Linked DNA regions of Homo sapiens: regions 2, 3, 4, 5 and 6 are each linked to region 1. The links are contacts of gene promoters, found by promoter capture Hi-C in blood cells and fetal thymus (Javierre and others, 2016). All regions are on one chromosome and are shown on one strand. The core of a region is centred on a gene start or on the middle of the fragment in contact, and the rest is flanking DNA. Distances in the headings are between cores, read along the strand shown.

Region 1 (4,561 bases), core at 975-3,474:
AGTCACTGACTAATATTTCCACTCTCTTTTCGTAGTTGATGGATGTTTAATGATTTGCCAATCTGAGGAAGAGAGATTCTTTAGAAAACAATAATCCCTTTTACTTGCACAAGACATCAGGTTTTAAAAAGCCCTTCCCAAACATCCTCTCCACATCCCATTGGATTGTGATTGAGCCTGGTAAACTGCAAGACTTGTTAGTTAGTATCCCCATTCTCCAGATGAGAGAAAGAAGCCTCAGTGAGGTGGAACAACTCAAGGTCACACAGCAGGTGCATGAGGAAATCAGAGTTCAAATCCATGTTTTCTGACCCTCCAATCTGGTCCACTTTCCTCTACACCTAACCATCTGTCTAAGCTCTGATAACATCATCCATATTATGACATAAATCTCCAGATGAGAGGTTGGCCAAATCACATCCCCTTGGGTAACATAACCACACCATAAATTAAAAGCCCAATTAAAGAACATAGCCTTTTAACTGGGACTTAGACTGTCCCCCGAGGCCACGATATAAAGGAAGAGCCCTTTCAAAGTCAATGGCTGCCTATCCTGGATATTATTCAGAGGCCTACTTACCTACATGCACGAACTTTCAGACCCTAATTATTCACATGCTATCTTCCTTCTTCCGGGGCCCTGGTCCCAGCTGATCTGAGTTTGTAATCACTCCCCAAGCTCTGGCCCTCTCTCCAGCCTGCAGATGTAGTTAACAGTCCATCACACTGTATGGACAGCCCAGGTGCCTCTCGGCTTTGACACATCACTTAACATCAAGAGCATCATAACCTGATGGAAAACAATGCCCCCTGGTTCAAATGGACAACTGAAGCGGTGTCTCCAGCTGTCTGAAAGCGAGATAGTTTGCCAGTGGCCAAGGAGCAAGGATTGTCACTATGAGCGATGTGATTCTTGTTTTGCTGGCAAAGTGGGGTGGGGAGCTAGAAATGAGGTGGGGAGAAGGGGAGGGCATAGTCTTGACTGCTAGCTCAAAATTTTATTTCTATTCCCATCCTATCCCTAATAGTCAACGGCAATAACATGATACTCCTGTGTCCCAAAATAATAACAGTTACTACTTGCCTCGTCTAAACATCCCCTCCAGTGACTGGGCTTGAAGCTGGCTCTACAGATCAAGAGCTGGTCCCTTTCCATGTCACAGCTGAGCTGCAGTGTCCCCGCACACCCCTGTCCCCAGCCAAGCCACAGGAAGAACGGGTCTGTGCATTCGCCTGGATCACAGGGAATCGCTGCCACTGTCCCCTCCACCCCAGTGCGGTCTTCTCCTGAGCCTGGCCCCCGGGTTCCCTGGCTCCAAGGACCCCAATGGCCAAGGTCTGCATGCGCCCCCTCAGCCTCCATCTGGGACTCCTGGGGGGAACCCCTCATTAACCCAGCCTCTCCGCTCCTTTCACAGCCCTGGCCCTTCTTATCCCCTCAAGACCTGTCCAGATGTGCAGCAAACCTGGAGGGCAGAGAGACTGGGGAAAATCGAGGGAGATAAACCACATTTTGCGGCGGAATCGCTGTTCCGTGACAGAAAGCCATCCAACTGGCAACCACGCTTGCAGAAGCGTCACTACCACCGACGAGAGAGTTTTGCAGCTGCCGACCCCGAAGCGCTCTCACCTACCTGTCTCCACTGCAGGGCTCCCCTCTCTCTCCCCCGGGGGCCGCGCTCCTGGGTCCCTCTCTCTCCTCTTTCGCCGTCTCTGGCCGCCAACAGTTGCGGCGGCGGCGGCGGCGGGCGGACTGGGGAGTCCGCAGCACCTGCGAGCTGGTGTTGGGTCCCCGCGGCGAGGCTGCCTGGAGGAGGAGCGAGCGGATGCTGCCCTCGCCCGCCGCCGCCGGTGCTGATGCGGTTGCTATGGTTATGGAACCCCGCAACTGCCCCCCTCTCCGTGCAACAGCTGCCCGGCCGCGGCCTCCGGGCAGCCCCAGCGAGCAGGCGCCAGGACGCGAGGCTGTCAGCGCGGTCGGGGGAACGCAGCCGCCAGCGCCGCAAGAAAGCAAGGACCGACCGGCTGCGCCCGCGCCGCTGGGCTGGCGCCTCCCGGGCTGCGCTCACCTCTGGCGCCCTCACTCCTCTCCTTCCTCCGCCGGGACGCGGCCAGACCCTCCGCGCCGCGCCGCGCGCCCTCGCGGCCGGGAGAGCCCGCCCTGCTGCTCCCGCTGGCTCCGCTCCGCAGCCGCTGCGCACCGCGTGGGTAGACGCTGCGCGACTGGCTGGCGGCGCGGCTCACGCGCTCCCACCTCGGTCCCTCTCCGCCGCGAGGCCCTGATGGGAGCCCGGGGCGGGCCGCCCGGCGGCCAAACCCCGCCCGCTCGGCCGCCCGGGTGCCCAGGGCGCAGGCTGCGGCCCCGCGTGCGGCCCTCCCAGACTGACCGGCGCGAGCATGCTCAGTCCCCGCGGCGGGGCTCCCCTCTCGAGCCAAGACCCCAGGCCTCGGGCAGGAAAAGGGTCCCTGCAGATATCCGGGGGCGGGGCGCGGCGGAGAACTGGCTGGGAGGGGACTGTTGAACTTGGAAGAGAAGCCCAGGCAACAAGTAGATGCCTGAGAAAGGGTAAAAGCGCTGAGCAACCCATACCTCCAATGCGAAGTCAGCAGTGGCCTTCAACCAGCCAGCCGGCCCGTCATCCGATGGGCTCCTCACTTCATGCTGAACGTGGGGGTTCACAGACGTGTGAGATTCTGTCCACGGAGGAGGGAGAGGAAGATTGGGGAGGGTTAAGCCAGCTCCCGTCTACTGAGCATTCTTAAGGGGCATTGGGAACTCTAATTATCACCACCACTGTGCTGGCAAGTTCTCGTGGCATGCCTGTGACAGATGACAAAACAGCCTTAGAGAAGGAGCCAAGACTGGGACTCGGAAGCCCAGTGACCCGTCCACTAGACTCGGCTGCACTAACTCCACCCAGGAGGAGGCAGGGAATGGAACCAGGCATTAGAGGATGACTATGTCCCCCATTAGACTGGGCTGCACTAACTCACACCCCAGGAGGAAGCAGGGAATGGAACCAGGCAATTGCAGTTGGCAGGAGGAGTCTCTAACCCTGTCAGGCTGGGGGCAGGGGCAAGTAATTGGGGAAAGATACCTGAAAAAAAGGTATAAGAACAAATGAGTGGGGCGGTGAAGGGTAGAGAAGACTGCTCTTTCCAGGACAAGAGGAGCAGGGTACAGAGGCCTGGAGGCAGGACAGAACAGCAGGAACCTAGCAGCAGCAGGCAAGGAGAGGTGAGGCAGGCGAGTGGTGAGGTTTACAGGGCAGGCACTGCACACCAAAGGCCTTGCGATCCAAGTGAAGGGGTTGGAATTTGACAATGTGACCCTTAGGATGGGAAGGGAATGGGGAAGGTGGTGGGGAGGAGGGCAGTGAAGCAGTTTAAGCAGGAGAAAGGCTGGGTGGGAATGAAGGGAAGATCACCTTAGTTGAAGTGTGTGTGGTGCTGGCTAGGGTGGGGATTAAGGCTGCAGAAAGAGGTGTCCTAAGGAGGCTGTTGACATAGTGGGCCTGGGCAGATGGAGGCTCTGAGCTATCTACCCTGCTTGTCCTCCCCACAGCACCCAGCAAGCCCAGGGCAATGCATACCCTCAGTAAATGTTTGGTGAATGGCAAATAAATATGAATTTCTCAATAGAGAAAATGGGTGCTTTTCTTTTACAATATTTGTCTCTTAAATGTGTTCATAACCATATGGCATTTATTTTGCTATTGACATTGCATTTTTATGCAACCTTATTTTTGAAAGTCAGTGCAAGCACTCATTATTTTCCTCTGCATTTTCTAGTCCCCAGCAGTAGAGATATGCCAGGAGCATAGGATTTACTTGTATTGGATGTATTGTCTGGATAAAACAGCTCCATGATTTATTAAGTGAAAAAGCAAAGTGCAGAATAGATAAAATAAGATAATATTAAAATAAGACAACTGTTGTGAAACAAGGAGACAGATACACATATTTGTATTGCTTGCATTGGCATAAAAATACGCTAGAAGGCTATGTAAGAAACTTGGAGAAGTAGCTATTAGCTATGAGGGTGAAGATGGGTGGAAGAACTAGGTTGACGAGGTTAGAGTGAGAGTGAGAATTTTGACATACACTATTTTTTTGTTTCTTGAGACAGGGTCTTACTTTGTTACCCAGGCTAGAGTGCAGTGGCACAATCTTAACTCACTGCAGCCTTTAACTCCTGGGCACAAGCAATCTTCCCACCTCAGCCCCTCCAAGTAGGTAGGACTACCATGCCTGGGTAATGTTTTTATTTTTTATAGACCTACCACCATGCCTGGGTAAAGTTTTTTATCTTTTGTAGACCTACCACCATGCCTGGGTAAGGTTTTTATTTTTTGTAGAGATGGGGTCTGGCTATGTTGCCCAGGCTAGTCTCAAACTCCTGGGCTCAAATGATCCTCCTGCCTCAGCCTTGCTGGGATTATAGGTGGGAGCCACTGCACTTGACCTCAACATACACTTTTATAAAACATTTTGATGTTTAAGCCAAAAAGAAATTGCACATATATGTAAGTGTGTATGTGCATATATATAAACACACACA
Region 2 (4,837 bases), core at 225-2,724, 300 kb before region 1:
TTATGAGAAGCAGTACATCCCAAATTCATACAGCACTTTGTGTGGCCCAGAGAGATTCCACGTTTATTTCTGTTTTTGCAGGTACACACACACACACACACACACACAAACACACACACACACAGGTATACATCTGTGCATCATATATGGAAGATGGATTTGAATCTCTATCTTACAGATAAAATATCAGAAGCCCTGAGAACCTCCTGCTCAGCTCCACCAGCTCTGATACTGAAGAATGTGGCCATCTTATCAGCAGAAACCAGGTGGCCTCTGGCTATTTGTTTTAATGGTCACAGTTGTGACTGGGTTTGAACTTTCCTCTGGTTCCATGATGCTGTGGTCAGTCATTTGCACACGGCTCTGGCATGGATTTTAATTAAAGCATGCTTGCCTAGCTGAGTGGAAACAATCCCTTAGCAGCTTACGGTCCTTGCTGATGACCTAATTAGTAGACACCTCTCTACTTCACCGCTGACCTCAGGTCCCTGAACCCCGCAAGGCAAAATGAACTATTGATACATTAGTCACGGCTATGTATCCTCAGTGTCTAGCACAATATCTGACACATAGTACATGTCCAGTAAAATATGATGAGGGTGTGAATGAACAAATAAATTCAGCTCCTTTGGATAAAATATAATATAAAAAGTTGTATCAGGAATCCAACTGCTACTGAAAAATCTCCATTTTTCATTTGAGCTATATAAAGTCACTCTGATTCTGTGCAGGTCATTCCTGCATGCATAAGATTTGAACTTGAAAAAATTCAGTGATTGCATGATTCAAAGAGTAGTGCCTGAGTACAGGATTTGTATATGATGTGAGAGCTGACAAAGCTTATAGTAAGAAGGCTCCAGATTCAATTCAACAACTATAACCCTGTACCTACTCCTTTACTCTACATACCGGAGAGAGTGTGGCAGGGATCTGAGGGGAATCAGCTCTTAAAGACCTCAGTCTATTTGGGAAGCAAAACATGCAAATAAATTTTTTACGTGATGATTTCAGTGCAGCAATGAACAATGAACAAGGCCATTGACCCAGTCAAAACCACAGTTATCTCAGCAGTTGAGGTCTAGGGGTACATATAGGGAAGTCAATGTACCCAGCAGGGTTCTAATGTTGAAATGGGTGTTATCGTTGAAAAGCAAGCTGGGGACTTCGCCTCTGTTCTAGAGTCAATGAGGCCTTATTAGAGAACTTTGAGCAGAGCCAGAACATATCACCTATTTTTACTGAGTGGGACATGACACAAAGGACCCTGCCCCAAGGCATCAGCACAGGATCCCTGAGCTGTCATGGTTCTGCCACACATTACTGTGTGATGCTGAGCAACGCTTTTACCTCTCTGAGCTTCAGGTCCATCGTCTGTCAATCAACAGAGATTCAAGCCCACTGATTTCCATGATGTCTCATCTTTGGAAAATCCATGTGCAAAAATCAACTGATCCCCAGATAACCAAATGTAATGGATACTAAGAAGTTTCTATAATCATCCAGCTCAAGCATATATGTATGCATATGTGTGTGTGTGTGTGTGTGTGTGTGTGTGTGTGTGTGTGTGTATATATATAGTTTTTATGAGGATTGTTTTACACTCTTGTAAGTTACAATTCCATAATTACAGCTTAATTAAGAAAAGGCTATAAACCAGCATTTTCCTCTAGAAAGCAACCTAAAATTATGCAGTGGAGTGGCAGGTGTGTAATAGGTACTCAATAGATGTCTGGCAGATGAATGCATGAGTGAATGAATGTGCCTTGAGGAACATGTGTCTTCTCTTACTGCATTTGCATTTCCCAGATCCTCTCCTGGTAGAATAATAAAAATCACAGCCCAAACCTACCTGGACCAGGGTTATTCCTGTGACATTTACAAAAGCATGCCAGCTTTTCCCCATCCCTTGTGTGGAGGAGGCACATGAGCTGCTGGGATGGGCTTGCCCCTGTCCTGGGCCCTTACCCAGCTCCGTGTGTGGCAGCTCTGGGATGTCCCGCATGATCACCAGGAAGTGGAGACGGAGACCCCGGTAAGCGTGGAGGAGCAACAGGCACAGGTCTCGGTGCCACTTGTGTGCGTGCTGCATGCAGTTCTCAGAGGTGATGTAGAAGCTTCCCTAAGGGGTGAAACAGAAACAGAGGCTGAGGAATATTGCACCTGGCCCAGGCAGCACAGGGCTGTGATGCTCCATCCACCCGCACCAACATTCACAAAATGTTTGGAGGTTCAGGGAAGGAAGCAGACCCCATCCTGAGTAAAACTGGAACATGGTTGAAGATTCCAGGAAAAAGAGAGTCCTGAGCTGGAATTGCTTCTTTATCCCTCCAGGCAAGACAACACTGAAATCTGCCACACCTTTGTCTTATATTCAAATTAAAATAATAAAATAGCAACAATAATAACGAATGATCATGAAGGTGATGAGGACATTGGCCTCACAGGTTTGAGACAATCGAGTGGCCCCACTTACAAGCTGATATGGTTTGGCTCTGTGTTCCCACCCAAGTCTCACCTTGAATTGTAATAATCTCCACATGTCATGGGAGGGACCCAGTGGGAGGTAATTGAATCACGGGGGCGGGGTTTTTCCATGCTGTTCTCATGATAGTGAATAAGTCTTATGAGATCTGATGGTTTTATAAAGGGCAGTTCCCCTGCACATGCTCTCTTGCCTGCCACCATGTAAGACATGACTTTGCTCATCCTTCACCTTCTACCATGATTGTGAAGGCTCCCTAGCCATGTGGAACTGTGAGTCCATTAAACCTCTTTCCTTTATAAATTACCCAGCCTTGGGTATGTCTTTATTAGCAGCCTGAGAATGGACTAATACACAAACCTTCTTTCCCCACTACTGCAGGGTGCACTATAGAGGCCATGGGACAGGTGGCTGTGGGCTCCTTTGCAGAGAGAAGAAATTTAGAAAGACCCTTGTAGCAGGTGGGTGAGCAGTAGGTCGTGCTGAAAAGGAGGAAAAGAAAGTGTCATCGTAATGTAGAAAGAAGTTGTGAGGTTAAGTAACCAATGCTGAAAGCACACCTGTAAACAGCTCTGCATGTGAGCATGCAGTGTCAGAACACTGTACATTATATTTTGTTTGTAGAAATAGAATGGATTAAACTGGTACAATTACAAAGTAATTTGTCCAATGAGGAAAAGACACCTAAGTCTACAGTGCACTTGGAGACCTAGGCATGATGAAAAGGAAGGAACAGGACAGTTTTTTTCTTGCCAACTCAACAGAGAAGGATGTCCTGAGGTGAATTTCAAAGAGATTTGTTCTTAGAGCAGAGAAAGGAATCGTGTGGGAAAAGGCCTGGGCACAGAGATGGGAGTCCTTGAGTAGTATGCTCGTGCCCATCTACTGTTCACATGGCCGTGACGGGAGGAGGCCGTGGCTCTTCATGTTCCCAGGCCACCTTGTCTGCCTGCTGGAAGAAACGCCAGGTGAGGAATTGGTGGCATTTCACCCTTGGCTTTTGCGAGTGAGTCTGCACAGCCAATGACTGGAGATCCTTCTGCCTTGCTTGGTCTCCTTTCTCCTAGCTGCCATCCAAGAGGGCTGAGTTGATCCAATGTGGGTGGGCAAGTCTCCTGGAGTCGACACACGTCTGTACATCATCTGCACTCCCAAGGGTGTTGTATAGGCAGATAATGACGGGCACTATTATACCCTCTCTAACCACCGTACCACAATGATTGTCATGTGTGATGCAGGGTGCTACCAATTTGAAAACTTGGATAGAAGTCTCAGGCCTGCTGCCATATACCTCTGAGACTGTCTTAGGTGAGAGACTATGAGAAACCAGGAGAGGGTCACTGGGTTGTGCTCTCAGGAGCAATATCTGTGCAGCTGTAAAGCAGGATGGGTGGAGGAACTGCATTGCATTGTCCTGCAGGTACAACGGAGACCTCAGCTGATGCCATGGGGAGTGCTGGGCCTGCAGAGTTACCCGGCCTTGGGGCAAGGACCAGGTCTCTGTACCCATTCACTGGTCAGTACTTGGTGTGGGTTACCCTATGTATTAGTTCGTTTTCACAGTGCTATAAAGAAATACGTGAGACTGGGTAATTTATAAAGGAAAGGCGTTTAATTGACTCACAGGTCTCCATAGCTGGGGAGGCCTCAGGAAACTTACAGTCATGAAGGAAGGGGAAGCAGGCACATATTACATGGCATGAGGAGAGAGAAATGCAAAGAAGGAACTTCCAAACACTTCTAAAACCATAAGATCTCATGAGAACTCACTATCATGAGAACAGCAGAGGGGGAAACTGCCCCAATGATCCAATCACCTCCTCCCTCGACATGTGGGGATTACAGGTTCTTCCCTTGACACATGGGGATTACAGTTCGAGATCAGATGTGGGTTGGGACACAGAGCCAAACCCTATCACCCTAGCAGGGAAGTGTAACCTTGCGGGAGCAGCTCTCTCCAGACAGGGCAGTCTCCATACTTAGCCAATTGCTGTGGACCACCAACATTCCCAGTAGTGTGAGGAATGAATGGCTCAGGTCTGAAGGTAGGGCTGGACATCACACCACAGAGTACAGGGAAGAGACCCTCTGTAGAACTTTACCCTCCATGGCTTGCATTTCTCAGCTCTGAAGTCTGGCCTTGGATTAAAAGCTTGTCAAATTCTTTCTGATTTGAACTTAAGACATTCAGCAACGTTTGAAATCAGAAGACTTGTCCATTTTGGAACCAGAAAACTCAACCAACTGCCCTGTCTGTGCTCACCAGGCATTCAGGGTAACCCATATATTCACATTTCTACAACTTTCCTATTATATTAAGGTTTAATACAGAGAAGCCAGTATGGCTGTAGAAAG
Region 3 (4,670 bases), core at 300-2,799, 260 kb before region 1:
TCCTGACTTTTTAATGAGTGCAATTCTAACTGGTGTGAGATGGTATTTCATTGTGGTTTTGATTTGCATTTCTCTGATGGCCAGTGATGATGAGCATTTTTTCATGTGTCTATTGGCTGCATAAATGTCTTCTTTTGAGAAGTGTCTGTTCATATCCTTCACCCACTTGTTGATGGGGTTGTTTTTTTCTTGTAAATTTGTTTGAGTTCTTTGTAGATTCTGGATTTTAGCCCTTTGTCAGATGAGTAGATTGCAAAATTTTTCTCCCATTCTGTAGGTTGCCTGTTCACTCTGATGGTAGTTTCTTTTGCTGTGCAGAAGCTCTTTAGTTTAACTAGTTCAACATTTGTGGAAGACAGTGTGGCAATTCCTCAAGGATCTAGAACTAGAAATACCATTTGACCCAGCCATCCCATTACTGGGTATATACCCAAAGGATTATAAATCATGCTGCTATAAAGACACATGCACATGTATGTTCACTGCGGCACTATTCACAATAGCAAAGACTTGGAACCAACCCAAATGTCCATCAATGATAGACTGGATTAAGAAAATGTGGAACACATACACCATGGAATACTATGCAGCCATAAAAAAGGATGAGTTCCTGTCCTTTGTAGGGACATGGATGAAGCTGGAAACCATCATTCTTAGCAAACTATTGCAAGGACAAAAAACCAAACACCGCATGTTCTCACTCATAGGTAGGAATTGAACAATGAGAACACTTGGACACAGGAAGGGGAACATCACACACCAGGGCCTGTCATGGGGTGGGGGAGGGGGGAGGGATAGCATTAGGAGATATACCTAGTGTAAATGACGAATTAATGGGTGTAGCACACCAACATGGCACATGTATACATATGTAACAAACCTGCACATTGTGCACATGTACCCTAGAACTTAAAGTATAAAAAGAAAAGAAAAGAAAACTAAGTTTCCACAAGAGTGAATGAGTTCCCCCAAGCCACATAGCATTTATCATAGGAGGCATTTGTAACCAGAGTCTGCTTTCTACCGCATTGTAACAGTCTCCGAGATAGAAATTTGGCTGGGCCGTGCTCAGATATGTCATTTGTAACAGAGTCTGGTGGACTGAAATGGTCTATCATGTGTGCCATTCCATCCCACTTCATACCAGGTCTAACGTTCTGAGCTGGGCACACACACGTCAGCAGAGATGCCCCTCACTCCACAGCTGCCTCCCATTTGGTTACTGGCTCCTGCCGTGTGAAGCAATGAATGGTCTGTGTGGCCTCAGTGTCTTGCTTCTCAGCTTCCTACATGAATATGATTCACACATTTGTATCATTCATTCCCCACACTTTTATTGAGCACTGAGTATGGCAGGCATGGTGCTGGCCCTAGGGATGGGGAGCTGAATGAGTTGGTTTCTATTCCCAGCCACTCAGAGCCCAGTGGAGGAAGGACAGAAATGCCTAGAGAATTGAAGAGAAAGTATTTCTTTTTAAGAAATCAGAGAGTACTTTCATATTAGTGGTGGCACCTGACAAAGTCTTGGAGGGTGTACAGGGAGTTGCACATCAGAGTCCCTCAGGACAGAAACCTTCTCATAATCATCTTCACAACCTCCTGTGGCAGCCTCAGCAAAGGCCCTTGGCTTGGGAGATGAGTGTTGAAAGTGTTTTGAATTGATCTGTGACCACTGACATTCCCTAACGCCCCAGGCCACATTCCCTGGAAAACAGAGTTTGAGTGGAAGATTTTCAGGCAGTAGATTCTGACGTTCTGAGGGCCAGCACTGGCTCTGAGACTCTTCAGTCTCTACAATGGGGTCTACTGAAACTCTGGGTGCCAGCCCACGTGGGGGCTGAAGGAAGGAAGACTGGACATAGGGAGAAGCTGAACTGTGATGTAGTCACAGCAAAGGCTTCGGCCGACCACGGGGAGCTTTGCCTCAGTGATGGTCCTGTAGCAAAGGACCCACAGCAGGGACAGTCCAATGACATGCTACAGGGCTCACTGCTTTCCACTCGCTTTCTTACTCATTCACTTCCTATGTGCTGGGCCCTGCGTCAGTGCTAAGGACGTCAGGTTCTGAGAAGCTCAGTGGTTGACTGAAGTTCTGCATCTACAAGTCACCGGAGTCTACCCTGGAACTGGTCTTATTTGGCTCTAAAATCTGCTCCTTCCATGGCACAGAACCCCATTCTGGCTTCAGGTCCCCTCAGCAGGTTCTTGACAACTCTTTTCTTTGCTTCTCAGGACCATAAAATCATGTGACACAGCAGCTTGGACAAGATGAAGACATGAGTTGGGCAGCTTTTGCCACCAGACCTCCTGGCTGGGTCTCAGAGCTAGCAAAGATAACATCACAGGAGAGCCAGCTGAGTGCATTACCTAATATTCTGAACAGTCTGTGCACAGAGCCTGACTGTATAGGAGGATAGAACACCTCTTTTGCGGGGCTGACTGGGCATGGACAGTTTATCACACTTATAATGTGGGCTACTCAGAAATTAGTAGTGATAGTTACTATTAATGTGACAGTTACTTTTACGTGTCATCTTACTTGGGCCACAAGGTGCCCAGACGTTTGGTTGAACATTATTCTAGGTAAGCCTGTGAGGGTATGTCTGGATGAACTGGTCAATTGAATAAAGCAGATAGCCCTCTCCAACATGAATAGGCCTTATCCAATCCATTGAGGGCCTGAATAGGACAAAAAGACTGAGTGAGAGAAAACTGTCTCTCTTATTTATTGTCTTTGATCTGGGACATCAGTTTTCTCCTGCCTTTGGACTTAGACTTGCAAGGGGCCTTATAACACTAGCTTTCCTGGTTCTGAGGCCTTTAGCCTTGGACTGGAATGATACCACCTGCACTCTTGGGTCTCCAGCTTGCTGACTGAAGATTTGGGGGCTTCTCAGCCTTCAAAATCATGTGAGTCAATTACTTATGATAAATCTCTTTGTGTGTGTGTGTGTGTGTGTGTGTGTGTGTGTGTGTGTGTGTGTGTGTGTGTTCTATTGGCTGTATTGGTCCTGTTTCTCTGGAGAACCCTGAATAATACAGGCTGTTTATTTATGAGTAGGCCACTAATAAAAACATAGCATATACTGGCTTGGGAGAAATATGAGCAGAATCATACCCTGTGTGGTTAAAGCCCTGCACATCACAGAAGAGCAGGGGATGTTTCCTAGGATAAAAGAACAAGGGGAAGGACAGGATATGCATATTTAGTTAGCAGCTAGTGAGTATTGGATACCGGGCTAGGAACTTTACATTTATTACAACATTTGGGTACATATAACACTCCATGAGATTATTAGCTATTGGGGAGCCCACTCTACAGGTGGGAAAACTGATGTTCAGAGAGTGCACAAATGAAAGCGGGAGCCAGGTTTTGAAACCAGACATGGCCTTCAACGTTATCACATAGTCTGAGTGGCCCCCTCACAGCACAGCCTCCTGACCTACAGAGAACCATATTCTTCCAAGAGACCACATATAACAAGTATCATATGAAGACCATATTCCCTGTATCTATCCCAGGGCTTGGCCTTAGAAATATGTCTGATAGAGCTTGTAGTGATAAAAACAAGGGGTGGGAAGATGGTGAAAGGAAGGGTCAAATTAGCAAAAATCTCTGAAGGGGATGTTTCAAAGAAGCATGAATCTCATAGAACATACACTCTGCAAAGTAAAGTTTGAAAGTTTTGAAGCAACTGCCCCACACAGGCCTTACCTCTGAGGAAGTCGGCTTGCAGTACCCAGCTCCAAAGACCAAGTTTTCCAGAGAAATGATAGACTGTTCTTGTCCGGTGTCTGGGCCACCTTTACCAAGCCAGGAGCCTCTTCCTGGACGAGTAAAACTAAACAAAAGATAATTGAAAGGGTGAAAAAGGAGGTAAAGAAAGTGATGGTGCCATTAACTCAGCCCCTTTGAGGAGTGTTCCTGTGAAGCATTTGGGATAAGTCATTTAGGAGTAGTTCACCCCCTAGGGAGTGTTTGCATGTGACATTTGTGGATATTTTGATGATAAAGAGGGTACAACTGGCACGTAAGCTTGAAAGTCAATGATGATACACATCCTACAATGTGTGCATGTAAATGCCCACCCTAAATGCCAACAACATACCTGTAAGAAACACTGAAGCAGAGCTCCAAGCTTATATCACTAGAGGGGAAGGTGGCATGGGCTCCGAAAATTTCAGGGGCAACTCTGACCAGACAAGGTCTGAGTCCTGTCCCTGCTCCTTCCACCAACTCCTCCCTCCCTGGACCTCTTTTCTTCTGTGGAAAAGCATAAAACATCTTCCTCCATGATCCGCATGAGAGTCTAATACGATGTCAAAGACTGTCATAAGCCAGAAAGCACTCGCTGTGTCAACGCTAATTGGGAAGACCATAACCTGCTCAGCTCACAAATGTGCAGTTCCTGCCCAGCTCTGCAATCCAAAGATTAATGGACATATTGTGATGGCAATGATCAATTTCAGGATCAAAGGAGATTAGGAAAAGATGTGTGATTATTCAAATTTATCATATTTGAGTTTATGATCATCTTCCTCTATCTTTACCTGTTTGATTTTCATCAATTGATATACCAGTAATGTTCACTTATACTCATATTCTTTTTTAGATCTCTTCTGTTTCATTTCTTTTCTAATGGATGTTTTGTCATATTGTGGATACTATA
Region 4 (4,324 bases), core at 1,134-3,633, 320 kb before region 1:
GGCAGGGGAATTGCTTGAATCAGGGAGGTGGAGATTGCAGTGAGCGGAGATTGCACCACTGCACTCCAGTCTGGGTGACAGAGCGAGACACCATCTCAAAGAAAAAAAAAAAAAAGAAAAGCACTTTTTCCAAAATACTTTTAATATTTCTTGTGATAGGCTCTGAAATCCTCTGAGATTGCCAAGGCAAGTATTCTATGAATGACACAGCAAAGGCCTGAGAGGCTAAGGAAGTTCACAACGCCACCCTGCACGGTCATGGTAGAGACACGAAAGCACGAAGATCTAGAGGCCAATCCTAATGCTTGATCTAATTCTCATAAAGGTTCCTCCAAAGAAATCAAATGCATGTGATCAGAGAATGCACAGCAGTTGGCCACTCACCCTCAGGGTGTGGTGTTCCTGGGTGAGATAAGTGGTCACTTGGGAGTGCAGAGTGACTGTGTCCAGGAACTGGGTCCACAGAGTCATCATGTGGGACGTGAGCCAGGCCAGATCCTTGCTTATCTGCTCAGCGATCTTCTCTGGATTGTTCAACATCTGGAGAGGCAAAAAAGGTGGTATTCAAGGCTCCTGACTCCATGAAGTCAGGAGCAGTCTTCTTCCTGAAGTCTTTACTGACTTTTCTGTTTTCAATAAAGCACTCTCCTTTCTCTGTACATCTGTAGTATTATATATTACAACTCATAGTACTATAGGATCATGTTATCACGTTTGATCTGGAAGCTAAGACAGCAATGGCAACAATAAATTATTGAGGTAGTTCCTATCTATAGAAAAACATCCAAAGCCCTTAGTCTAGCAGGCAAGATTGCCCACTACCTAGTCCCAGTATATCTTTTCCATTTCATTTTACTTTCATGTATGTTCTGAGTACAGCTTACTCTTAGATTTCCATAAACATCTTGCACCTTGAATGTTTTCCCTCGCTCTTCGTTTATCCTGGATATCCCCTTTCAACTTTTCTATCCAAGCCTTCTAATCCCATCACCACAAAACTCAATTCACCCTACTTTTCAATGCCCAGAGCCAACAACACTTGCTTTATGACGTCTTCACAGTTGCCCCAGCTGGAAACCTTTTACTCACATTCTCCCCAAACTCTTCAAGGTACCCCAGATCCATCTACTGGACTCTACTCTGTATCCCATCAAATTCTGGACGCAGTACTTCACAGCAGTTATAACTTCCAATCATCACTATCTCCTATGTGTAAGGTAGAGTACTAGGCATTTGACGGTGCTCCCTATCTAATCCTGCCAGATACCCTTTGGTAGAGTTACTGTGGCCATCCAATTACAGAAAGTGAAATGAAAGTCAGTAAAAGAATGCCCAACCTCACATACAGCAGGGATTCAATGGAAGGGATGTATGACTATGAAGCCACATCACCATGTCACCTTCGCATAGTAAGTGTTTAAAAAACGTCCTGAGAGAAGACAGCATCTCTGTAACCTCAAAGCACCTGAGGACTGAGGCAATTCATGCACGATAGGTGCTCCATAGCTTTTCTCCACCATCCTCCTCACACTACTCCACATTTGTTTTTGTTTTTCTTTTAGTGACAGGGTCTCGCTCTGTCACCCAGGCTGGAGTGCAGTGGTGTGATCATGGCTCACTGCAGCCTCGAATTCCTGGGCTCCAGCAATCCTCCAATCTCAACCTCTGGCTGGGACTACAGGTGCATGCCACTGCACCCAGACAACTTTTTGTAGAGACGGGGTCTCACTGTGTTGCCCAGGCTGGTCTCGAACTCCTGGGCTCAAGTGATCCACCTGCTTCAGAGTGTTGGGATTACACGTATGAGCCATCACACCTGGCTTCACTCCACATTTCTTACGGGAGATTCCTGGTTACATTAACTAAAATGTAGAGGAGTTAGACTAGAAAGGGCCTAGAGGCTTTGGGAGAAGACCCTTTGGACAGAAATGCTTTAGATAGCTACAGTTTAATACCAGGAGAACCATCTTTTGGGGGAGTAACTCGAATTCTGGAGAGGTGAGAAGAGAGGTCACATCTCTGAGGATGGCAGGAAGCCAGTTGCCAAAGCCTGTCACTGACCTCTAAGCTTCCTCACTTATTCAAGCATTTAATCCCAGGCACATGTTTAGAATAAGAGAGAACTCAGAGATGAACAAGAGAGGGTCTCTGTCCGTAGGGAGCTTTGTTCAATGGTGGATATTTCCACTCATTAATGTGAGTTAACAATTAAAAGTGCCGCGGAGCTTTCTACTATGCACAATAGACCAGGGACACACAGCCATAGCCACATCCAATCCCATTCCTTTCTCTTCGTTGCCCTGTGCCTCAGTTTTCCCATCTGTAAAGTGAGTATGCAAAACAAATTACTGCTTTTGGGTGTAAAATATGAGGAGATCCAAGTCCAATGCCTAGCTTGAAATGCTGGAATTTTCTTCTGCTATTCTTAGACTGAAGACTAGTGCTAGATAGAGACCAATTGGGTAAAGTGAGACATCCAAGAGTAAGAAAGAGGGAAGGAGGAGTTTGGCACACAGTAAGGTTCTGTAAATGTTGCATATTTTTGCTTTATCATGGATGACTTGCTTCCAGATACAGAACATCATTCAGCCACAGCATCATCTCTGAGCTACTTCTTCCAAAAGGTAAGATAAGTCTGTGATGATGACACAAGCTATGAAACCCCAAAATGAGGGAATCGCCTGCATTTTCTTCTGATGGAAGCTTTACTTCCAGCACTGGCTCTGGGGCAGGCAGGGGTCAAACAGGGAATGGCCATTCTTGGCCCATTCCCATACATCATGGTCAAAAGTGTTAAGTAAAAACTGGGGCCGGGCATGGTGGCTCATACCTGTAATCCCAGAACTTTGGGAGGCTGAGGCAGGCGGATCACGAGGTCAAGAGAACGAGACCATCCTGGCCGACATGGTAAAACCCTGTCTCTACTAAAAATAAAAAAAAAATAGCCGGGCATGGTGGCAGGTGCCTATAGTCCCAGCTAATCGGGAGGCTGAGGCAGGAGAATTGCTTGAACCTGGGAAGCAGAGGTTGCAGTGAGCCGAGATCGCACCACTACACTCCAGCCTGGAGACAGAGTGAGACTCCGTTTCAAAAAAATAAAGAAGAAAAGAAAAGTAAAAGTTGAATGGGGAATATGGCGGACAGGGTCAGTCATTACAAAACCTCCTGGCTAGAGAGTGAGGCTTTTGGATGAACTGTAAGTGACTTCTATATAGATTCTTGAACCAGTGCCTCTCACTAATAAGACCCAACCTTATGCATCAGCACGTGGCACAACTGCTCCTGAAAATGCCCCCCACCTCACCTCTGCCCACTTCCCATCCTGGCCCAGTGCACTCCCGTTCCCAGCCATACCAACCTGCTGGCAGTGGGCTGCACACACACCTGGTCCTCTCCAATCCCAGGCCCTTGTTCAGGCTGCTGGTCTCCCTGCGCACCTTCCCCCGTCACCTTCCAGTTTCCTTTCTTCTTCTTTTCATCACTATGGACTTGTCTGTCCTCTACCAGGTAACCATTTCAGAAGCCAATTTTGTGTCTCCTTGTTTCTTTTTTTTTTCTCTAAATAATTTCAACTTTTGTTTTAAATTCAGAGAGTCCACACACAGTCCATATTGCTTCTGATGACTCTTCTGAACCTTCTCCAATGCTCCGCGTGTAAGTCTAAGATCCTTCTTGACGTCTACTTGACCTGCACGGGCACCACTCATAGCACCTCCACCCACATGTTGCTGGCTTCACTTCCTACATCCCCTGCATTTTGAGCTTCAGCCTTCTCACTATTCCCAGCCCCAGCACAACAGCTGATAGAGAGTGAGGGTCAGTGACTCTTTACAAAATGAATAGGTGGCTCGGTGTCCGTGGGAGGTGTCCCAGGCCTCCGGAACTCAGACTGCCTCTCCCGGCCTCCTTGTTCCCTCACTCACAGCACCACTACCACGCTGCCACCACAGTGGCACCGGCAAACACAGCACGAATCCTGAGCTCCGCCACCAGAGTGAACAAGAGAAAAAAGAAAAGCTATTCATTAAATGTGTCTTTGGGAGGATTATGTTGCCTCAAGTTGATTATAGAAATGGCTTTAGATAAGGTTAAAGAAGCTTCTAATTAAGCCACAAGAGGACTTTTCTACTCCACAGATGCCCGAGCCTGTGCAATCACAGATGGCGAGCTTGGAAGGGTTTTTTCCAGAGACCGAGGAGGCCCTTTACACTAACAAAGAGGCAGCTGCAGCCCAGAGCTGTCATAGCTGAAACTCCCTGAAAAAAGGCCCTGCCATCCACGCCTGCCACACTTTCACCCTCGTCACCTGGGTGCTAACCAAGCA
Region 5 (4,310 bases), core at 547-3,046, 360 kb before region 1:
GGCTCACAGATGAGCCCGTGGCTACACCAGATTCACAGGCACAGAGGGATCAGCAGAGTCAGTGTTTACAGGACGGTGGAAGATTGTGACCAAGAACAGACCCTGGGCCAGGCCAGCTTGTGTGGTGGGACTGAGCAGGGCAATCAGTCAGCTGCTCCACTCGCCGACTGGACATGGGGACCACTCGGCAATGATCACCATTACTGCTGTCCTCTGTGGACATTCCCATGTAGCAGGTAGGGTCTTCAACACCTCTATGCACTTCCACATGACAGAGAGAGGGTGCAGGTATCATAGCAGGCCTGCCTGACAATGACCCCCGTCTCCCACTGCACAGTCAACATCAGTGGAAAATGTTGCATCTGCCTTTTTTGTAGATGGGCCTGTACCTGGGTGAAGCTGGCACACAGATCTTAGGCCTATGCAATGAGAACATTGAAAAACTGGCACAAAGTGGAAGCTACAGCTTCTGGCTATTGAAATGATCTTACACACACCTTGGCTCAATCTCTCACGTGCCATATGGGCAATGGGCAAGAGGAGCTGAGTTCCTGGTAGCTGTTGGCCTCCCAATGAGCCAAAGAGGCTTTGAGTGCTGGGCCTCCTGACTAGGCCCTTCTGTGAGTGAATCAATGTAGCATTATATCTCATTTGTGTCTCAGGAGTTGAATCCCAAGCTCAAACTCATAACTGCAGCTGTGGGGGAAACCACTGACCTGTTTTTTGGCTTAGTTGGTAGAGGAAACATTTGCGCAAATCAGCATTATCCCTGAAGGTCAGCTGCAGTAGAGACCCGGATTTCTTCAGTTTCTGCATGAGCCATAAGCCTAGGAAGACAAAAACAAAATAAAAATCAAAAACACAAAACAAAACAAAAACTAACTGGGATGGAATTTTGGTGAGATGAACGTTAAACTGAATTTTAGTTAACTTGAAAATAAGAGAGAAGTAGGCATACTAGCAAATAGTTGGGAAGTTAGAGGTAAATTTGTCCTCTCACGTACTGGTGGAAAGGACTTAAATCATCCTGCAAAAATGATGACAGGACAACAGCCTTCGGAGTAAGAAACTACCCACACTCTTCAATCCAGTCAATCTCCTTCCGAAAAAGAAGCCTAGGGTAATAATTTTCAATGCGAAAAGAATATAAAATGATCCTTACAGATACATTTAGGATACAGTAAAGCTAAAATAAATGTCTCACTTCACAACTCATCTGTTGGCTGGGCATGGTGGCTCATGCCTGTAATCCCAGCACTTTGGCAGACCGAGGCGGGTGGATCACCTGAGGTCAGGAGTTCGAGACCAGCCTGGATAAAATGGTGAAATCCCGACTCTATTAAAAAATTAGCCAGGCATGGTGGCAGGCACCTGTAATCCCAGCTACTTGGGAGGCTGAGGCAGAAGAATTGCTTGAACCTGGGAGGCAGAGCTTGCAGTGAGTCGAGATTGCACCATTGCATTCCAGCCTGGGCGACAAAAGCAAGACTCTCTCTCAAAAAACAACAACAACAACAAAAATCTCATGCGTTTAGCTAAGCTTAGGCAAACACTAACATTGATGAGTGTAAGGATTACATAACCACAACAAGCAAATTAATCTGATAGAAACACAAGGAAATAAGCAAGCTATGGTATGTACATATATTACACTGACTGCTACGTCAATGTGTGTGCACAAAGATAAGTAGAATGAAATATATAAAATTACTCTGGATATGCTAGATTGGAGATATTATTGGTAAAGTCTGTCTTTTTAAAAAATATTTTATGATGCTGCAAGATTCCTTTATAACTGTGGGGGAAAAATGTAGTTTAACAAATTTGTTTCTGTCCAAAGAATGGCTTCCTTGGTTTGGGAGGAAAGACAGAGTGCAGAGGAAAGGACTTCCATTTGTTATGTGCCATTGTGTCGGATAACTCATGTTCACAAGTATGCCATAAAATAACTTAAAAGCAAACTAACTAAACTGACCAGGCCATGAGGAAACAACGTTAGTGTGGGAGAGGACAGGGGACAGTGGCAGAGGCCTGGAAGATTGCAGGGACAAGGAAGCTTATCAGGGGTGACCCTAATGCCACATAATGGGTTTGAACAATCAGGGACTACTGAGGTAGTTGTTAAGAACATGATTTAATAAACGATTTGTTATTACATATAAAACTCAATGCCCTCCTTGGGCTTCCATACACCAAACCATGTCACCTCCTCAGTAAAATCTCATGAGTAGTATCTACAAGGTCTACAGGGTAAGTCTAACATATTCTGGAGTCAGTCGAGGTCCTTCTTTGTCTGACTCTTGCTGATATATTTAACCTCCCATAGATGTTAGTCAACCTTATTTCCTTCCCCTGTGTAATCTTCAACAATTCTATGATACACATATGCACATATGCACCTACACACCATATATATGTATACATACTTACATTGTGTACATGCTTGTACACATACATATATGTATACATACATATACACAAACACAGATACACACACACATAACCTCCATTTTACAAACAGGAAGACTGAGGAGCACAGAGATTAAATGTCTAGGCCACAGTCTCCCTCAAGTGTCCTGGTCAGGACTTAACCACAGGTTTGTCATGCAGGTGGCCTGATTCAGAGTCCCTGTTCTCTTCATCACAACACCGTGTCTTGTCAGTCTTTTCCAACCAGGACCCCAGAGACATTGCCTTTTTTTCACAGAAATTTGAAGGCAGAAATGATCCTGGAAAACATCTAGTGTCACCTCACTCAGCCCCCAGACACAAGGGCCACACCTCTAAGGCCAGGACTCCTCCCTCCATGCCATGCTTGGAAAAGACTGCACAGTCACAGGGTTCCAAGTGGAAGTACCTGTGCCCGGTTTCACGCCCCAGAGGCCCCAGATTAATTCTGAGGAATGACGAGTCCTAGAAGAATCTTACCTGTACTAACCAGGGTGCTGTTGTTGTACAGGGTTCCCAGGTGAGGCCCAGAGAGTGACAGGAACGTGTGGAGTTTGTTGAGGTAATACCGGAACCGGGGCCGTGTGAGGACCGATCGGATGATGATGTTGCCAAGAGAATGGCCAATGAAGCTGTGGAGAAACAGAAGGGGTACCCATGAGTGTGACGGTGAATGCTGCTGCCCAAGAGTGCAGTGCTGGAAGCATCAGGGGCCATTGTTCTCCACCTCCCACTGAATGTAGGGGAACTGGCAAAGAGAACAGGGACTGCCAACTCAACCTCATCAGGTTTCAAAACACTGGCCATGAGAAGCCTGAGATGGGGTCTTTGTGAATGGGAGCTTTGTGCCCAGTCAGGGGAGAAGTGTGGGCATTTCAGCCAGCTTCATGCTGCTAGAGCAGCCTGCTTTAATTCCACCTGGGGGAAGGGAAGGTCCTTCCTGAAATGCACCTCTGAGCATTGAAATCTCCTGGTCATTCACAGGATCAAGTCCCAAGTCCTTATCCTGCTTGGGAGGCCATTCATATACGGATGGCCTCACAATGCCATTCATCCTCTCCTTCACCCGCTGTGTATATATTGAACCACCTGCTCACAGCCCATGCTGTTAGACCCCCTCCTGCAGGCTCTGCTCCAGCCATACTGCTACTCACAGGCCCACGTGTTCAATGAATCATTATTCTCAAGTTAAATACTTATTTATTGAGAGCCTATTATATGAGAGGCTATACCTCCCCACCTCTACTCATGATGAGCATAAAACCATCCAAGAAAAGAAATCAGTGTCACCCTATGAAACTGCCTCACCTAGCTTTTCTTTTATTCTTTTTTTTAAAAATCTAACCTCTATAGGCTTCATTTGTGGAATAAAGAAGTAATATTTTGTATATGAAGACTAAATGGGATAATGTATATCAAGGGATTAGCACTATGTCTACATATTCAATTGCATGAAAAATGCAAGCTGCTTACTAGCACTGTCGTCACTGAAACATTTGGTACAGTGTAAGAATAAAAGTAGTGCTGATTGAAACTCTCTCTTTGGGGTGGGCAACTCATTCTGCTTCTTCTTTTTTTTTTTTTTTTTTTTTTTTTTTTTTGAGATGGAGTCTCACTCTGTCGCCCAGGCTGGAGTGCAGTGGCGCAATAATCTCGGCTCACTGCAAGCTCTGCCTCCCAGGTTCACGCCATTCTCCTGCGTCAGCCTCCTGAGTAGCTGGGACTGCAGGTGCCCGCCACCACTCCCAGCTAATATTTTTGTGTTTTTAGTAGAGATGGGGTTTCCCTGTGTTAGCCAGGATGGTCTCGATCTCCTGACCTCGTGATCCGCCCGCCTCAGCCTCCCAAAGTGCTGGGATTAC
Region 6 (4,920 bases), core at 172-2,671, 280 kb before region 1:
AAGAAGGGATCGGGGATAATTCTGAGGTTTCCAGTGACTCAGACAACACAGATTTTTCAAAAAGTTTTAGATCCCATGAAGATGGACATGATTAAATATCTAGACATGATTAAATATCTAGAGTCTAACAGCCTGGGCTCAAACCCTAGAACCACCATCCACAATCTACCTAATCTTGGGCCAGTTAGTTATCTCTCTATGCCTAAGTTACCTTATCTGTAAAATGAGGGAAAACTAATAGATTCCTGGTAGGGTGCTAGTGAAGAGCAAATTAGATAACGTGTGCAAGAACTTAATATGGGAGATAGAAAATAGTAAATACTCAAAATAATATTTTAACTGATATTATTCTATTAATTGAAAGTATGGACTCTGATCTGAATGTTGGCCATAGAGCCATTTCCCTTATATCTATAAACTCACCACCATGATCCCTGGAAATAACTATTACATAGCAAAGAGAACATTAGACTTGGAATCTTGAATCTAGCATCTAATATTTACTAGATGAACAATCCTAGGCAAGTCACTTTCAGTCTCTGAGCCTCAGGCTTCCATTCTATGACAGAAGTTAGCAAGTTGCAGAGGCGTTATCAGAAATATTAAATGAAACAAGAGGATGAAAGTGCTTTGGCACAGACAGAACATTATAGAACCCCCAAATCATGTTGCATTAATTGATACATCAATAATAATTGTCAGAAAGTACAACTAAGGCACTTTGGGAAGGTTGCATGGGCACTCCATTCTCCGCACCCTCCTCCCACCCATGAATGGCTCAGATCCTACAAGTGATGCCACGCAAAGATTAGAGAAGCCCCCAGAAGATATTCTGGCAGCCATGAGCAAGCATCAGTTTCTTTGGACATTCTCTCGGGAATGAGAATGAGATCAGCATAGAACAGGATTCTCTGTGCTACCCAGAGAAAGCAATTAATGAGTCCGAGGGGATGGTAAAAGTCAGTGGAAGCGATATTCATTTCCAATAACAAATACCAGAACAAACTATGTTACAGTGAACAGTACAGTGTACATGCTACTACACCTACAGACAAGGAGCCTGTCTGCACATGGAACAATCTGAAGACTTGGTTCCAATAGGGTTTCCTTGTCATATCAACTCCAGGAATAGAAGATCTGCAGTGGAATGGTGGCAGTGAGTTGCTGGTTGCCAATTAAAATCTAAATAACTACAATAACAATTTTTATGAAGACACTACCAATAAGACTTAGAACCGTTGGAGGATAGCTAGATAGAAGAGGACACATCTGATCAATTCTGAGATAAGCTTTCCTCAGACTATCTTTTAATAACATTCACACTCATGATATTTATTGAGTTCTAGGTGCTTACACAGATGCTGAAGGTTATAGCATGAAGGCAGACATTTCTGCCTTCACCAGGCCTTCAGCCTGTAGTGAAGACAGACAACTGTCTGCAGTGAGATTGGCATTGCACTAATGGAGAAAGGGAAAGGATGCAGGTAAGGGGTGCTGGGTAATGCCTGTCTGAGCCAGGAACATTCATTCTGAATCCTAAAGAATGGCCAAGAGAAAGCTTCAAAAAGTCAGTCATCTGATGTGCTGCCTTTCTCACTCATTTGGGCAATAAATACCTGAAGTCGTCTGATGTGTTTATGAACAAGTTGGTGGTTGGAAAGTATTACTGTTTCTAAGCCCCATTTAAGAGCCAGTGATGGGTTGCTCATTAGAGAGTGAAAACCTGCTCTCTAAACTCTGATTAATCCACAGGAATCTTTGACTTGGTAGTCTTTGCAATAAGCATATTCATATAGCCTAACCCATGTTCTTGAAAGACAGCTACAATCCTAACCATCTTATAAAAGGGGAAACGAGGCATGAGGACACATAATAAGTAGGCTACAGAGCTTTCCAGGGCTTTGGGCTGTGGAGTCTACCAGCTTCTTCACTGTATGGTTATGCGACTTTGGTCAAATAGAAACCCTTGTTGCCTTGGTTTCCTGATGCACATGATAGTATAATAATAGTCACCTCGAAGCTGCGAGGGATAAGTGAGATAATCTATGTAAGCATTGCCTGTCACCAAAATGACCAGCATCATCACCACCATCATCAACAGCATCATCACCATTATCTAATGCCTGACGAATATGCCCACTTAGGTCAAGAGTCTGGAAATTTTGTTCAGAATCTATATTTATGTAAATAGTAACTAAATGAAATAATGTGCTTCATGGCTAGAATTATCAATATACTTCTGGATAGTCATATCTAGACAACAAAATGGTATAACTGAAAAAGTTCTTAGCTTAAGAGTGGGAAGAAGTAATTTGGAATTCCAACATTGTTCTCTGTAAGATGGGAAAAAAATATCTCTTGCCTCTAGCCTTCCATGTGAGGCTATTCATTTGTTCTCTGATATATTTCTTTTTTTTTTTTTTTTGAGATGGAGTCTCCCTCTGTGGTCCAGGCTGGAGTGCAGTGGCACGATCTCGGCTCACTGCAAGCTCCGCCTCCCAGGTTCACACCATTCTCCTGCCTCAGCCTCCCGAGTAGCTGGGACTACAGGCGCCCACCGCCACACCCAGCTAATTTTTTTGTATTTTTAGTAGAGACGGGGTTTCACCATGTTAGCCAGGATGGTCTCAATCTCCTGACCTTGTGATCCGCTCGCCTCAGCTTACCAAAGTGCTGGGATTACAGGCGTGAGCCACCATGCCCGGCCGATATATTTCTTTATACAACAGCATTCAGTGAGTTTCCTCCTATGCGTGAGGCGCTGAGGATGTATCAGTGTTCATGAACTACCTGGTCCTTTCCTTCACGGAGTTTTTGTAGCAGTGGAGACAAAGTAGGAAGAGAAAAAGTTGAATGTTACTATGAAACAGCCATGGGATGAAGACAAGATACTGGAGGGATTCTTTTAGGCCATCTCATAAATGTAAGGAATTCTTATTTCTGTATCAAAAATTACCTCTGTCTTCCAAACAATGAAACTATTAATGGAAGTCATATTTAACTCCCACCTCTTCACACTAAGTATAATTGGTAGACTTTAATGGGTGAAAATTTAGTATTTATGGAAACATGATAACTAAGATGACTTCCAAATGTGTGAGCAATGAGACTTTAGGGGAAAATAAAAATGGAATCCATGTAGATGCAGTTCTTGAATTAACCAAAAAATGTCTGTGCATATGAGCAAAGATAGAAATAATTCTACTTCTATTACTTCTAATTAAAGCTCTACTAAAAATAGTGAGAAAAATAAAAGCAGGAGAAGGAAAAAGATGAGAGCTACCATTTATTCAATATTTACCATAAGTCAATCACTCTACACATTAATCATGAGAACGACCATAGAAGTCACATGGGGATAGCAATATGTCCTGCTCACAATCACATATTAATTTAGTGCAATACCAATATAGAAAATAGTGAAGAGTTCAGAATTATAGACATGGGTTACAATTTGAGCTCTAATAATTTCCCTTAGAAAAGATTCCTGGCGTCTCAGATCCCCTGTTTGCTCCTTTACAGAGTGGGACTCATACTTAGAAATGTTCATGGATGTTAGAAAAGTTAAAAAGATGATGTTTGCAAAAACTGAATATACAGCACAGAGTTGCTCAATAGATATCCCTCCTCCTTTCTTTTTACATGGGCAGTGGATTTCTTGCCTTCTAAGGTTTGCTACAGGCCACTCTAGAGACCCTGTTCAATGCCCTGCTCCTCCCAAACTTACACGCACACACACACACAGAGAGAGAGAGAGAGAGAGAGAGAGAGAGAGAGAGAGGGAGAGAAAGAGAGAGAGAGAGATTTATGAATAGAATGTTGTCCCATCAGACAAGGCAACGCAGCCAGGAAACTGCTTACCAGGCACCAGTAAAATACTCCGCAAGAAAATGAAATTGAACCAAAATAGAAAATAAAACTATTTCTAAAATTCCAACAATAAAATTAGGTTGAAATGAGTTGAATGCATTTGCAGGTGATGATAAATATCATGTGCCTACTTACCTGGCTAACCCAGTGAGAGCTGTATCTGTAACTGCCATTAATAACCACACATCTGAACACTAGTAATTTGGTCTCCATGGAAACAGAAGGTACTATCTTCACTACTGTTCATAGATGGATCTTTTATTATTTCAATATTTGAAAAGTGATTTTTCAAGATGATAGAAACTGTAAAATATATTCAATTATGCGTAACATGGGAGATAGGAAGTGGGGAGTTTCAAATACGCCTTTGGTTTTGCTTATTTTTCAGGGAGAAAAGAAAATGACACTGATGGGGAGAACAGGTTGATATTTTAGAAGAAAGGATCACAATTCCTAGATCTCCTGTAACTTCTAACATTGTTAAACCTGGAACCTGTCCCTGGCAGCTTTCATCGTAGGGGTTGATTTGCTGCCTTTAGTCATTTCACAGAAGTCCACCAGGTACCAATAAATGCCCAGAACCCCAGTGAATTAAGGAAGGCCACTCGGCAATCACCCAGTGAGGATCATAAAATCTGCGTAAATATTTGAGATGGGGATTGAGAAAATAACAAAGAAGCATGGTCTAAGATACCAAATGGACCAGGCCTTCCTATTCCTCCACTAGTTAAAACAGAAAACCAGGGTCATCCTTGTATGTTCTTTCCCTCTCACCCAGACGTGTTCATTCTCTCTCTTAAATGACTCACTTTACCTCTTAAATGACTCACTTTACCTCCCTCCCCCATTTCCTATTGCATTAGCACGGATCAGGTTCTCCCTTGGAATAATCCAAATGTGTTTTTACTAGTCAGCTCTTTCCCTCTAGGAACTCATGTTCTGGTAGAAACAGAAACAGATGCACAGGTGCTTGTGATAAGCAATTCATATGAACTATTCATAGACAACAGCTAATGAAAGGCTGACCTCCTGCCCTGGATTATCTCATGG

Evidence for each region. Contacts are between HindIII fragments. The CHiCAGO score rates a contact against its expected background, and 5 or more counts as called.
Region 2: a contact is called between a fragment that was not itself captured here and the fragment with the promoter of FAM135B in region 1, in 3 of 17 cell types (M1 macrophages, M2 macrophages and M0 macrophages). The highest score is 7.6, in M1 macrophages.
Region 3: a fragment that was not itself captured here is called in contact with the fragment with the promoter of FAM135B in region 1 in 2 of 17 cell types (M2 macrophages and M1 macrophages); the score reaches 5.5 in M2 macrophages.
Region 4: a fragment that was not itself captured here is called in contact with the fragment with the promoter of FAM135B in region 1 in 3 of 17 cell types (M2 macrophages, M1 macrophages and M0 macrophages); the score reaches 14.5 in M2 macrophages.
Region 5: a fragment that was not itself captured here is called in contact with the fragment with the promoter of FAM135B in region 1 in 2 of 17 cell types (M2 macrophages and M0 macrophages); the score reaches 6.8 in M2 macrophages.
Region 6: a contact is called between a fragment that was not itself captured here and the fragment with the promoter of FAM135B in region 1, in 3 of 17 cell types (M0 macrophages, M1 macrophages and M2 macrophages). The highest score is 7.3, in M0 macrophages.

The regions. Positions count from the first base shown.
Region 1 is chr8:138,495,037-138,499,597 of GRCh38, forward strand. FAM135B (family with sequence similarity 135 member B) reads right to left here and starts at 2,225. Exons shown (of 20, transcript NM_015912.4): 1 at 1,635-2,225. The HindIII fragment of the contact is 6,997 bases long and covers 1-4,561 here.
Region 2 is chr8:138,195,551-138,200,387 of GRCh38, forward strand. It overlaps FAM135B (family with sequence similarity 135 member B), which reads right to left. Exons shown (of 20, transcript NM_015912.4): 8 at 1,966-2,119. Among named protein-coding and RNA genes, the nearest start is that of FAM135B, 300 kb to the right of the region's middle. The HindIII fragment of the contact is 1,275 bases long and covers 838-2,112 here.
Region 3 is chr8:138,239,227-138,243,896 of GRCh38, forward strand. It overlaps FAM135B (family with sequence similarity 135 member B), which reads right to left. Exons shown (of 20, transcript NM_015912.4): 7 at 3,716-3,842. Among named protein-coding and RNA genes, the nearest start is that of FAM135B, 260 kb to the right of the region's middle. The HindIII fragment of the contact is 4,969 bases long and covers 1-4,034 here.
Region 4 is chr8:138,178,151-138,182,474 of GRCh38, forward strand. FAM135B (family with sequence similarity 135 member B) reads right to left here. Exons shown (of 20, transcript NM_015912.4): 10 at 385-540. Among named protein-coding and RNA genes, the nearest start is that of FAM135B, 320 kb to the right of the region's middle. The HindIII fragment of the contact is 635 bases long and covers 2,067-2,701 here.
Region 5 is chr8:138,138,270-138,142,579 of GRCh38, forward strand. It overlaps FAM135B (family with sequence similarity 135 member B), which reads right to left. Exons shown (of 20, transcript NM_015912.4): 17 at 2,929-3,080; 18 at 717-827. Among named protein-coding and RNA genes, the nearest start is that of FAM135B, 360 kb to the right of the region's middle. The HindIII fragment of the contact is 516 bases long and covers 1,539-2,054 here.
Region 6 is chr8:138,215,024-138,219,943 of GRCh38, forward strand. The region is part of intron 7 of FAM135B (family with sequence similarity 135 member B); the gene reads right to left. Among named protein-coding and RNA genes, the nearest start is that of FAM135B, 280 kb to the right of the region's middle. The HindIII fragment of the contact is 269 bases long and covers 1,288-1,556 here.